Linked DNA regions of Homo sapiens: region 2 is linked to region 1. The links are contacts of gene promoters, found by promoter capture Hi-C in blood cells and fetal thymus (Javierre and others, 2016). All regions are on one chromosome and are shown on one strand. Each heading gives the region's core, a stretch centred on a gene start or on the middle of the fragment in contact. The rest is flanking DNA. Distances are from core to core; before and after follow the strand shown. Region 1 holds the start of MAK16 (MAK16 homolog). Region 2 overlaps LOC105379380 (a long non-coding RNA gene).

Region 1 (6,011 bases), core at 784-3,283:
AGTTTCGTCTATCTAGTTAGGGGAAAGATATGTAAACAAAGTATCACAAAATAGCAGGTCTAAAGGCCACATAGCATGCGTAAGAGTATGACAGCCTTTGAGTGCGCTGCCTTGAGGAACTGGGGTAAAAAAAAGCTTTACCACTGTTAAAGGAAAAATATGAAGAGGGCAAAAGAATAAAACACACTTTAAGAATTTTATAGGTGTGTCTGGTGGGGGATGGTAGGAAACAGGTAAGAAGAATAAGGGAGCTCTTTTAGGCTTGTGGCTTTAAGTATCATCTCTAAATGGATGACTCCTAAATTGTTATTTTCTGGTCAGACTTCTTTCCTGAGCACCAGATTTTTATATGACATCTCTTCAATATCTAAAAGGCAACATAAATATTAACATATCCACAAGGAGTTCTCAATTCCACATCCCTCGTAAGAACAGTCTTCCCTAGAGTTCCCCCACTTCAATAAATAAAATCACCATTTAACTATGTATTTATATCCCAAATCCTTTGATTTCTTCCTTTTCTTCTTCACTTAATCCATCACCAAAGTCTTGTCAATTATACTGACGTAAAAGGTCTCAAATTCATCAATTTCTTTTCATCTCCACCATTAAATTACTACCTTAGGCGAAGCCACTTTCGTTTTTAAAAAAATTTATTTACTTTAGAGATAGGGTCTCTCTGTCACCCAGGCTGGAGTGCAGTGGTGCCATCATAGCTCACTGCAGCCTCGGACTTTTCGGCTCAAGTAGTCCTTCTGCCTCAGCCTTCGAAGTAACTGGGACCTCAGGCGAACACCACCGCGCCCAGCTAATTTTTTATTTTTTGTAGAGATGGAGTCTCACTTTATTGCCTAGGCTGGAATCGAACTCCTGGCCTCAAGCGATCCTCCAGCCCCAGCCTCCCAAAGCGTTGGGATTACAGGCATGAGCCACTGTGTCTGGCTTGAAGCAACCTTTGTCATACCCTAGTCTCCTTGCTTTCATTTTTTCCCTCCAAAAGTCCTTCACACAGCAACTAGACAACTTTTCACAAACATAGATCATTAAAAGGCCTAAAAAACACTTCCTACAAGATTCTGCATGACCTCGCCCTGGCAAGCATATCTAATTTCATTACCTGTCTTACATTGTCACTTTGATGACCCTTATATTCATTCTCTCATATCTTCAACTCTTTGTACTTTACTGTTCCTACTGCCTGGATTGCTTTTTCCTCAGCTCCTCAGTGACTGGCTTATTCTTATCTTTTAGATCTCAACTCAAACATCTTCTGTTCAGAGAAACCTTCCCTGAGTAACCCTATCTGAAGTGTCCTTCATCATCTCTGGTCTTTCTTTCATAGTATGATTATATAGTGTAATTGTTAACTTATTTGTTCACTTGTTTACTGTGTCTCCCCCATCAGTGTTCCAGGAGAGGTGGGACATTTTTTCTGGTTAACCAAATCCTCAATAATTACCACAATGCCTGGCACACTGTAAGCACACTGTTATTTCTCCAACAAAAAACTCAATGAATGAATCTAGGATACTTCCGAAATTATGACTTAGGCAGAAGTAGAGCAAATGTAAAGAAAAGCCTACACAGGAAACGCAGATGGAAGAGTAACGCGCACATGGATGAGAAGGACGCTTAAACTTGGAGTCAGCTTCGCCAAATCCCGGGCCGCCCCCCACCCCAAGTCCGGAGCTGACAGCTGACAGCTGACAGCATGACGCGACGTCCTGCATTGGTAGGCACGAAGGACGGGACACATCGACCCCATGGGCTGAGGTGACGGAGTCCTGTGCTCACAACCCGGCCGGGGCAGCGGGCAGTAAACCCCTGCTAGACACGCGTGAGAACCTATGTTGGAAAATCGGGGTTCCGGAAGCCTCACATCCAGAGCGGCACGAGGCAACAGACCCGCTGCGTACGCGTTTTCTAAGTGTCCGAAAATGGGCAAAATTCCCTGCGCAAACCCCGGGTGTAAGAACAACCGGAGGAGACTCACATCATCCGACTGCATGGTGTCCGCGGCTCAGCGTGCAACTTCCGGTCGGATCGCGGGCGCAGACATGCTCCTTCCGGGAAACCAGTTCCGGAACGCGCAGCCTCACCTATCTCGAGAAACGCTGAGACTCTCGGTGTTGCGAAGCGTCCCCTGGCAGTCTCGTCGCCGCGCGCGCGCCCCCGCGTCTTCACCACGCTGGCGTCTGCGCGCGCCCGTCCGCAATGCTGGGCTTGTTCATGGGCGCAGCCTGGAGCTGGGAACCCTGTTGGGACCCAGTGCGATCCGCGGGAGGCAGGACGCGCGCAGTCTGCCGAATCCTGGAGCGCGGGGACCGCGGGGGTCGGGCGTGCTTCCCTAGCGCCCTGTTTGTGACCGTTCATGAGGATGGGACCCCTCCCTGTCGGGCCTCCCCTCTGCTGGGAGGAGGCTGGGGAAAGCTGCAGGCGGCGCGGCGGGGCTGGGTCCCCGCTCCTCCGAGTCCCCCGGCCCCAGCTCGCAGCCAGGCCCCGGCCCTGCCCCTCAGACCCTGACTTAGCCACTCCCCACGCCCACGTTGGGTGCGGCACCGGGTCCTGACTTTAGAAACTCAGAACTTGAATTCCTCCTGCTTTGAGAAACCACTGACCAAATGGAAAGAGCATTCCAATAATAATAAACACCTGTGTCTTCCTCATTGCCTATTTGAGACAACAAACAAAGTTGATAAGGGAGGGAAAATACCAAGAAGAAAAGTAGAGGTCTAATAACCCACAAAAACAAATCTGGAAGCCTAACAGCTCTTTTCCGCCAGGGGAAAAAGAAAATCTTTACTAGTTTGTATCGTATTATAGAAGAAAGACTGTCGGCCGGGCCGGGCGCGGTGGCTCTCGCCTGTACCTCAGCACTTTGGGCGGCCTAGGCGGGCGAGTTCCAGACCAGCCTGGCCAACATAGTGAAATCCCGTCTCTACTAAAAATACAAAAATTAGTCGGGCGTGGTAGCAGGTGCCTGTAATCCCAGCTACTTGGGAGGCTGAGGCAGGAGAATCGCTTGAACCCGGGAGGCGGAGGTTGCAGTGAGCCGAGATCATGCTGTGGCCCTCCAGCCTGGGTGACAACCAAAACTACCTCTCAAAAAAAAAAAAAGAAAAAGAAAAAAGAAAAGGAAAGAAAGACTGTCAAGAGGCATTTGAACCAGAGCAACCCCATCTTGAATAGTGGCTGGGTAAAATAAGGCTGAGATCTGCTAGGCTGCATTCCCGAGGGTCAGGCCATCTAAATCACAGGATGAGGTCAGCACAAAATACAGGTCATAAGGATGTTGCTGATAAAACAGATTGCAGTAAAGAAGCCAGTCAAGACCCACAAAACCAAGATGGCAATGAGTTTGACCTCTGGTCGTCCTCACTGCTACACTCCCACTGGCGCCACAAATGCCATGGCAACATCAGGAAATTACTCTATATGGTCTAAAAAGGAGAGGCGTAAGTAATCCGCTCCGTGTTTAGCATATAATCAATAAATAGGCTGGGCTTGGTGGCTCACGCCTGTAATCAGCATTTTGGGAGGCCGAGGCAGGTGGATCACCCGAGGTCAGAAGTTCAAGACCAGACGGGCCAACGTGGTGAAACCCCATCTCTACTAAAAATACAAAACTTAACCAGGCGTGGTGGTGGGCACCTGTAGTCCCCGCTACTTGGGAGGCTGAGGCAGGAGAATCACTTGAATCTGGGAGGCAGAGATTACAGTGAGCTGAGATCAAGCCGCTGCACTTCAGCCTGGGCAACAGAGCAAGAATCAGTCTCAAAAAATACATGAACAAATAGCGATAAAAATGGGCAACCAGCAGCCCTCGGTGCCGCTCTGCCTATGCAGTAGCCATTCTTTCATTCCTTTACTTTCTTAATAAGCTTGCTTTCACTTTACGAAACTTATGGACTCACCTCAAATTCTTTCTTGCTTAAGATCCAAGAACCCTCTCTTGGGTCTGATTGGGGACCACTTTCCAGTAACAAGACCATTTTAATAACAAAAGTGTAAGAAGGACACAGTCTCAGTAAGGATGGCGTGTGTCCGGGAGGCCACCCACAGGTCCTAGAGGCTGCCTGTGGCTTCTTGCCACATGGGATTTCTCAACATAGCTCCTTACTTCATCAAGCCAGCAACGAGTTAAATTCCAGTCTGCTAAAACAGAATCTTAAATAATGTTAATCTTAAATAATCTTAAATAATCTTAAAAAATTATGGCAGTGACTTTCCATAGACTTTGCCTTATGCCATTGGTTAGATCAAGTCACAGGTGCCACCCTCACTGGAGGGGAGGAGAAGATACAAGACATGAACACCAGGGAGTGGGACTCACTGGGGTCACCCTAGGGATACCCTGGATTTGACTGCAACTGAAACACATGAGAAATTTGATATAAAGTTTAAAAGCATTTATCATGATATTATGTAGTATTTAGTGAGGCAGAGCTTGCGGTGAGCCGAGATCCCGCCACTGCACTCCAGCGTGGGTGACAGAGCGAGACTCTGTCTCATTAAAAAAACAAACAAACAAAAAGTAATCTCCAGTTCAAAAGAAGAATGAAAGAAAATTTAGCCGTGTGCGGTGGCTCACACCTGTAATCCCAGCACTTTGGGAGGCCAAGACAGATGGATCAGCAGGTCAGGAGATCGAAACCACCCTGGCCAAGATGGTGAAACCCTGTCTCTACTAAAAATACAAAAATTAGCCGGGCGTGGTGGTGGGTGCCTGTTATCCCAACTCTTCGAGAGGCTGAGGCAGAGAATTGCCTGAACCCACAAGGCAGAGGTTGCAGTGAGCTGAGATCGCACCACTGCACTCCAGCCTGGGTGACAGAGCGCAACTCAGTCTCAAAAAAAAAGAAAAGAAAAGATAAGAAAATGTAATGCTATTTCAACATTCTCTATACATACCCGCATTCTCCTCTGTTACCACAGTGCACTATGTATTCCTCACTAGTGTTGTATTATTGTTATTGGTTTATTATCTCTTAGGCCTTGAGCTTTTCTGTTTTTTTTTTTTCTTTTCTTTTTTTTTTTTTTTTTTTTTTTGAGACAGAGTCTCACTCTGTTGCCCAGGCTGGAGTGTAGTGGTGCGATCTCAGCTCATTGCAACCTCCACCTGCTGGGTTCAAGCGATTCTCTTGCCTCAGCTTCCCAAGCAGCTGGGACTACAGGCGTGTTCCACTATGCCCAGCTAATATTTACATTTTTAGTAGAGACAGGGTTTCACCATGTTGGTCAGGCTGGTCTCAAACTCTTGACCTCAGGTGATCCGCCCACCTTGGCCTTCCAAAGTGCTGGGATTACAGGTGTGAGCGCCCAAGCCAGGCCAACGTTGAGCTTTTCAAGATTAAGGATGATGTCTTTTCATTTCTTTATCCACAATCTCCTGTACAGTTCCTGGTACATAATAAATTCACAATAAATTAGTTGTTAGGTCTCTATTTACTTATTTATTTAGAGACAGGGTCTCCGTTGTCTTACCTTCCAGGCCTCTGCCACCTTCAGCCACTCCCACAGCAACTTTTCCCAGAGCTAACCCTGGGCAGAGTCAGGTTTCCTATGAAGTGTACACACACACACACACACACACACACGAAACCCTGAAGTGTGGAAGGCAGCTTGTTGGAGGATTAAACCTAATAAAGTTGCTCATCTGTAAAGCATGTGTGTTTGCTTGTATACAATCAGAGGAATAAACCATTTAAGGAGAAGAAAAATACATAGTTTTTTGTTGTTGTTTTAGCAGAACCACAGAGCTCCCCAAAAGGAAGAGATGTGCAGGAATGAATTTAGACCCTCTCTCTATAAATCTTGTCAGGCACTGTGGCTCACGCCTGTAATCCCAGCACTTTGGGAGGCTGAGGCAGGTGGACCACCTGAGGTCAGGAGTTTGAGAGCAGCCTGGCCAACATGGCGAAACCCTGTCTCTAGTAAAAGTACAAAAAAAAATAGCTGGGCATGGTGCTGGGCGCCTGTAATCCCAGCTACTTGGGAGGCTGAGGCAGGAG
Region 2 (6,002 bases), core at 2,955-5,454, 4.1 Mb before region 1:
CCAGTGGTGCAGTGATTTTAACTCTAGCTTTGCAGTCTAGTCAGAACATTCCTAGTAATATCAAGGTGGCTCACACCTGTAATCCTAGCACTTTTGGGAAGCTAAGGCGGGAGGATCGCTTGAGCTCAGGAGTTTGAGACCAGCCTGGGCAACATATCAAGACCCCATCTCTAACAAAAATAAAAATAATTAGCCAGGTTTGGTGGAGCACACCTGTGGTCCCAGCTACTCAGGAGGTTGAGGCAGGAGGATTGTTTGAGCCTAGGAGTTGGAGGCTGCAGTGAGCTACGATTGTGCCACTGCACTCTAGCTTGGGTGACAGAGTGAGAACATGTATCAAAAAATTTAAAAAAATTTACACAAAAATTTGGGACTAATGATACGTACTCATTCACTCTTTCTTTCAAAATTGGTTGGGGTCCTTCTATTGGCTCAAAGGAGGTATTTGCTAGAACTGTGCAGGGGGCTGGAGATTAAAGTGACAACAATGAGGTCCCTGTTCTTGGGAATTTGCAGATTAGTGAGGGGTCCACTCTGTCTATACTGGCAAGGAGAGATAATTCCACTGTGGCATGGTAGAAGAGGACATCACGGAGGCAGTGATGTTGATGTTGGATCTTGAAGGATGAGTACAAGTTTACCGGGACCAGTAGTTCTAGGGAAGGGAACAGGATGAGCAGAGTTCAGCATGCCAGTAGCTTGGTTTGCAAGGGAGGGTGGCTGGGGATAAGATGGAAAAGGCAGGGCAAAGCCATATTTTGGAAGACATTAAATGTTACCCCAAGGAGTTAGGCTTTATCCTGTCAGTGAAAATAAAGCATTGAAAGTTTTGTCCAGGGGCTGGACATAGTCATTTCTGTGTTGGGGGCTGGACATAGCAAGGTCTGTGTTGGAGCCAGCTGCCTTTGGCAGTGTGTTGAAGCGTGGTTTGCAGTGAGGGGAGACTGACGTCAGAGAGACAGCTAAGTCTGTGATGATCTGAGTGGGAAGTGCGGAGGGTCATGTTGATTACTGTAGCGACTACAAGCTCTGAGAATGTGTGATTCACACTCAAATAGTGATCAAATAACAACAATTTTTCAAAAAGGTTGGGAATAATATAGAGGTCCAATTTAATGTTTCCACCATATTTTTTTTTTCAGGGGTAGGGTACTAGTGTGTATGTGATTTTAATAAAAATATGTTTAAAATCATTAAATACATCTTTTATTTATTTGTATTCGTATATATTCATGGGGTGCAGGTGCAATTGTGCTACCTTGATGTATTGCACTGTGGTGAAGTCAGGGCCTTCAGTGCATCCGTCACTGGAGCAATGCACAGTGTACCCACCAAGCAACCTCCCATCATCCACCCTCTCCCACCCCTTGAAGTCCCCATTGTCCATCATTCCACACTCTGCTTCCATGTGTACACATTATTTAGCTCACTTATTAAGTGAGAACAGGCAGTATTTGCCTTTGTTTAAGTTGTTTCACTTAAGATAATGGTCTTCAGTTCCATCCAAGTTGCTGCAAATAGTATGGCTGAATAGTATTTTTTATGGCTGAATAGTATTCCATGGTGTGCATAGACCACATTTTCTTTATCCAATTTTCCATTGATGGACACTTAGGTTGACTCCGTTTCTTTGCTATTATGAATAGTGCTGTGATAAACACACAAGTGCAGGTATCCTTTTGATATAATGAAAATACATGCTTCTTGTAAAAAAAAATATAGGCAAGAATAAGTTAGGGATGCATGAAAAGTCTGCCTTGGCCTTGCTACTTGTCTCAAATCTGCTATTTGGCTTCAGCTCTGGAGTTGGCCTGCAGAAGGCTGTATAGTTGATGGCAACTTCAATGTCATTTCTTGCATCCCTGAACTTGTATGTGATTGCATTGAATCTAATGATCATAACCATAGCAGTGATATGAACAAGGTATGGCACTGAGATTTATTAATAGCAAAACATTCATTCTGAAATAGAGGCACATCCTCTAGGTGTAACTTGGAGTGGGAATCTCTTTTGTGCTGTAAATTCCATCAAATTCCATCAGTCGGTTGAAGTTAAAATGTGCATTTATAATCATTGCAAGACTAAAGAGCTGCAATAACTGTGAAAGTGAGTGTTGTTACTTTTACGTACAGGAATTATGATGAACTTTCAAATAGTTACATAAATACGGGAAGAGTCAGCACTTAATTAGAGTCATAGGGGAGTAATGCTAGCTAGACAACTTTAGGGAAAACATATCCTTGTATCCTATTTGGGAGCCAAAACTATTATAAAATCCTAAAAAATAACTTTTAATAACTTTTTATTAAAGTTGATTAGCTGATGTCATTAAATCTCATTTTTACAGAATTATTTGTTGTAGCAACATGCATGACATTAAATAAAACAACCTTTCAGAGCTGTTTTTCATTTTTAAATATTTAATTCCCTCGAGGCCAGAAATCTTTCAAGAAAAAGTCTCATTTGAAAATCTTTCACATCTTGTGAGGATGAATAAAAGACAGAATGTCAACTTTGCCGCCTTAAAATTTCAAAAAGAGGAAACATTCCAAAATCGCATACAGCATCCATGATACATGATCCTTGATCCAGACATAAAAGAGAATATAAAAATGAAGAAAAGAGACGCTGTTAGAGAAAAATGGGACTTCCCTCCAAACATCTTGCTCCTCACCCACATGGGTGGAAGTGATCAACCCTCAGTCACTCAAATGGGCACAGGAAGGGCCTTGGATTATCCCTTCAAGCTGGCGGCCCAAGAAAACTGTTTCTGCACCCTATGTCAGCCCTTAAAACTTTACTATAGCTCTAATTCAAAATTGTAATAATAAAATTTGTATTTAAAATTATGCACAGGCTTTGGCCTCCTCTTCAGCTGAACTTTAACACTTGGCCATTTGGCATTCAGCCATAATGTACCTGTAACTGTAATGTACCCCTAAATATAAATTGAAAATCTTTTCTTCCCCCAACCCCTGGTCTCTTCTCCAGAGATTACCACTGGTGCTTAAGGGCCTTGTAATATTTCTATAAAATATTTGTATTTGTTCTTGCAACAGTGGGATCATCCCATATACTCTCCAGTAATTTGTTATGTACCATTACATTAAAGATAATTTAATTCAAACATCTTTCCATGAGACTATGTGTAGCTCTATCTTATGTTTTGTAATGACTTGCATATATTCTGTTGTATGGATGTGGCATTATTTAATGACCCAATCCTTAATTAAAGAACATTTAGTCTATTATCATTTTTTTTGAGAGGGAGTCTCGCTTTGTTGCCCAGGCTGGAGTGCAATGGCACAGTCTCGGCTCACTGCAACATCTGCCTCCCGGGTTCAAGCTATTCTCCTGTCTCAGCCTCTTGAGTAACTGGGATTACAGGTGTTGGCCACCACGCCTGGTTAATTTTTTAAAAATGTTTAGTAGAGACAGGGTTTCACCATGCTGGCCAGGCTGGTCTTGAACTCCTGACCTCAAGTTATCCACCTGCCTTGGCCTCCCAAAGTGCTGGATTACAGACATGAGCCACCATGCCAGCTGACTTAAGCTGTTTCTAATTTTCATCCATTGTAAAGAATGCTGCAATAAGCATTTTATACAGTTTTTTGTGAGCACTAATTATTTCCTTCATATATATGTATGCAAACACACACGCACATATTTTTGGTGTATCTTGCGATATTGTCTTTTGAAATATTGTATCAATTAATATTCCCACCCACAGTGTATATAAAGAAGCTTGTTTCCCTCACCAATACTGATTATCATCTGCCTTTTGAATCTTCGCCACTGTTGTGTGAAAATGATCTCCTGATATTTTAATATACATCTTTTTTTATTAGTGAGGTTGGACATTTTTCTATATGTCATCGTGTTGATAAGTTTTAATCTCAGAGGAAGTGATGCCATCCTAAGTGAAGGAGGAAACACACACTATGTGATGCTCTTGTTTTAGGTGGTTCCACATAGAACATGTGATGGGTGCTTGACACTCACTGTAGCAGTCAGGTCACTTTCACTTCCTCCTTTCGGTTAATTCCCATAATCTCCCTGTGAAGGCTTTATTGTTATTCTGAACATTTCAAATGTGAGAAGATGGGGCTCAGAGACGTCAGCTGATTGACCTGTGATTTCATGGGTAAAACAAGTAGATCTGGGGTTTGAAGTTCAATTTTCTAAATCCCAGTCTTCATTTCAGTTTACCACATTGTGTTTGCTACTGAAAAATCTAAATCCAGATTCCTGGACAAAAATTTCTCAAATAGAAAAAAATCACTATACTTACTGAGCACGGCCCTGCAGGCCCATTATCTCGTTGAATCCTCATTATGAATCTATGAGGGAAGAGAAAATTATCATCCACACATACAGGGTTTTAACCTTGGAAAGCTATCCAGAATCCATGCTTATAACCACTGTGTCCCACGGCATCTATACCGACTAGCACAGTGCCCTCTCATGTATGCTAAGGAGTCCCCCAGACTGCAGGGCGTTGCTTGAGAATGTGAAATTGATTCAAGGGTGACAAGACAAAATCAGGCTGAGAATTAAGGTTGAGGGATGGTAGGTATACTGTTTTCTTCACCAAGGACACTAGTGGCATTTATGGCAGGACAGTTCTTTATGCAGGTGATCTCCTATATCGCTGGAAGCTTAGCATCCTGGGTTCCTGCCCCCGAGTAGCATCTCTCAGGTCCTCTGACAACACAAACCTCACTCCCTGAATTTCCAGATGCCCTGTGAGTGGGAGTTACTTCCCTGGTTGAGAACCACTGTGCGAAGGGACCCTTCTTTGATAATGGTATGTATTTATGTCTTGGCTGATGTGATTCTGTTGTGTCTGGTATAGTTGTGCTGTTCAGGCCAACCCTCTTGCAGAGGGACTAGGATTTGCAGAATGTTCTGCAAAGGTAATGTGGTATTTCTGGGGCTTCCTTTGAGGCTGATCCTCAGTAACCCTCCGAGCTCGTAGTGTAGCCTCTGTCTGCAGTCAATAAATGTCAATACTTGCACTTGATGGATGTCTGGGTGTCTGCTGTTTTGTGCTGGGCTGTAGCCTATGGCAATCACTTTTCCAGGCCCAGATATTTTTCTTCCTTTTGATTGCAGAGGGAGCAGCAGGCAGGGGAATCGCCTGTTCACAGTCCCATTGCTATAGGGAAAGGCTTTGGAATGGTTGGAACTCAAGCTCTGTGGATTGGCTTCTCTGAAAGCCAGCCGGGCCCAGTCCTCCTGGCCATAAGAACAACTCCACTGGTTTAGCTGAGCCCTTTATGCCAAACCCATGGCATGCCCAGGGCTGTGTGTGAGCTCATGGCATGTGCAGGAAGAGCTGGGGCCTCTAGGGTGCAGTCAGCAGAACTTCAGGAAACTTGGGGAGGAAAAGGCAGTGAGTGGCTACCTGGGGTTTGGCTTTTAGCTCCAAGCTGCCTCCAGCCGGCCGGCCGTGCCCACCAAAGTGGCTCTGTGGCCATACTTTTTAAGGTAGTGGCAGTAGTGCAGTATTGAAACCATTACTTATTTTCAATTTGCCCAGTGAGGAGAGTTTGTAATGGTGGAAACTAGAATATGTGTGCAGAGGAAGAGAATCCTGAAAAAGGAAGTTCTTTGCAGCAGCTACATTTTTAACATAAGGGAGAGTGGTCTTTCTGAGTTCTCCTTCCTCATTTGTGTAGATAGAAGAGATCTCCTTTATCCCTGTCATTTTCTGGGGCTAGGCTATGAACAAAAAAGCTCATGGTTGAAAAGCAATTTTTTTTTTCTCTTGAGTCAGAGTCTCATTCTGTGGCCCAGGCTGGAGTACAGTGGTGCGCTTTCGGCTCACTGCAACCTCCTCCTTCTGGGTTCGAGTGATTTCTCCCACCTCAGCCTCCTGAGTAGCTGGAATTACAGGAGCCCATCACCACACCTGGCTAGTTTTTGTATTTGTTTAAGTAGAGATGGGGTTTCACTATGTTCCCATCCCTTTCCAGGATCTGCTGCTGTGTGTGTTCAC

What was found. Contacts are between HindIII fragments. The CHiCAGO score rates a contact against its expected background, and 5 or more counts as called.
Region 2: a fragment that was not itself captured here is called in contact with the fragment with the promoter of MAK16 in region 1 in 1 of 17 cell types (total B cells); the score reaches 7.6 in total B cells.

The regions. Positions count from the first base shown.
Region 1 is chr8:33,481,204-33,487,214 of GRCh38, reverse strand. It overlaps MAK16 (MAK16 homolog), which reads right to left and starts at 2,033. Exons shown (of 10, transcript NM_032509.4): 1 at 1,994-2,033. The coding sequence starts at 2,008. RefSeq lists silencers at 2,026-2,213, 2,424-2,613 and enhancers at 2,104-2,253, 2,241-2,877. The HindIII fragment of the contact is 3,746 bases long and covers 138-3,883 here.
Region 2 is chr8:37,629,785-37,635,786 of GRCh38, reverse strand. The region is part of intron 1 of LOC105379380 (a long non-coding RNA gene); the gene reads left to right. LOC124901931 (a long non-coding RNA gene) reads left to right here. Exons shown (of 2, transcript XR_007060886.1): 2 at 2,436-3,132. Among named protein-coding and RNA genes, the nearest start is that of LINC01605, 33 kb to the right of the region's middle. RefSeq lists an enhancer at 4,063-4,112. The HindIII fragment of the contact is 914 bases long and covers 3,748-4,661 here.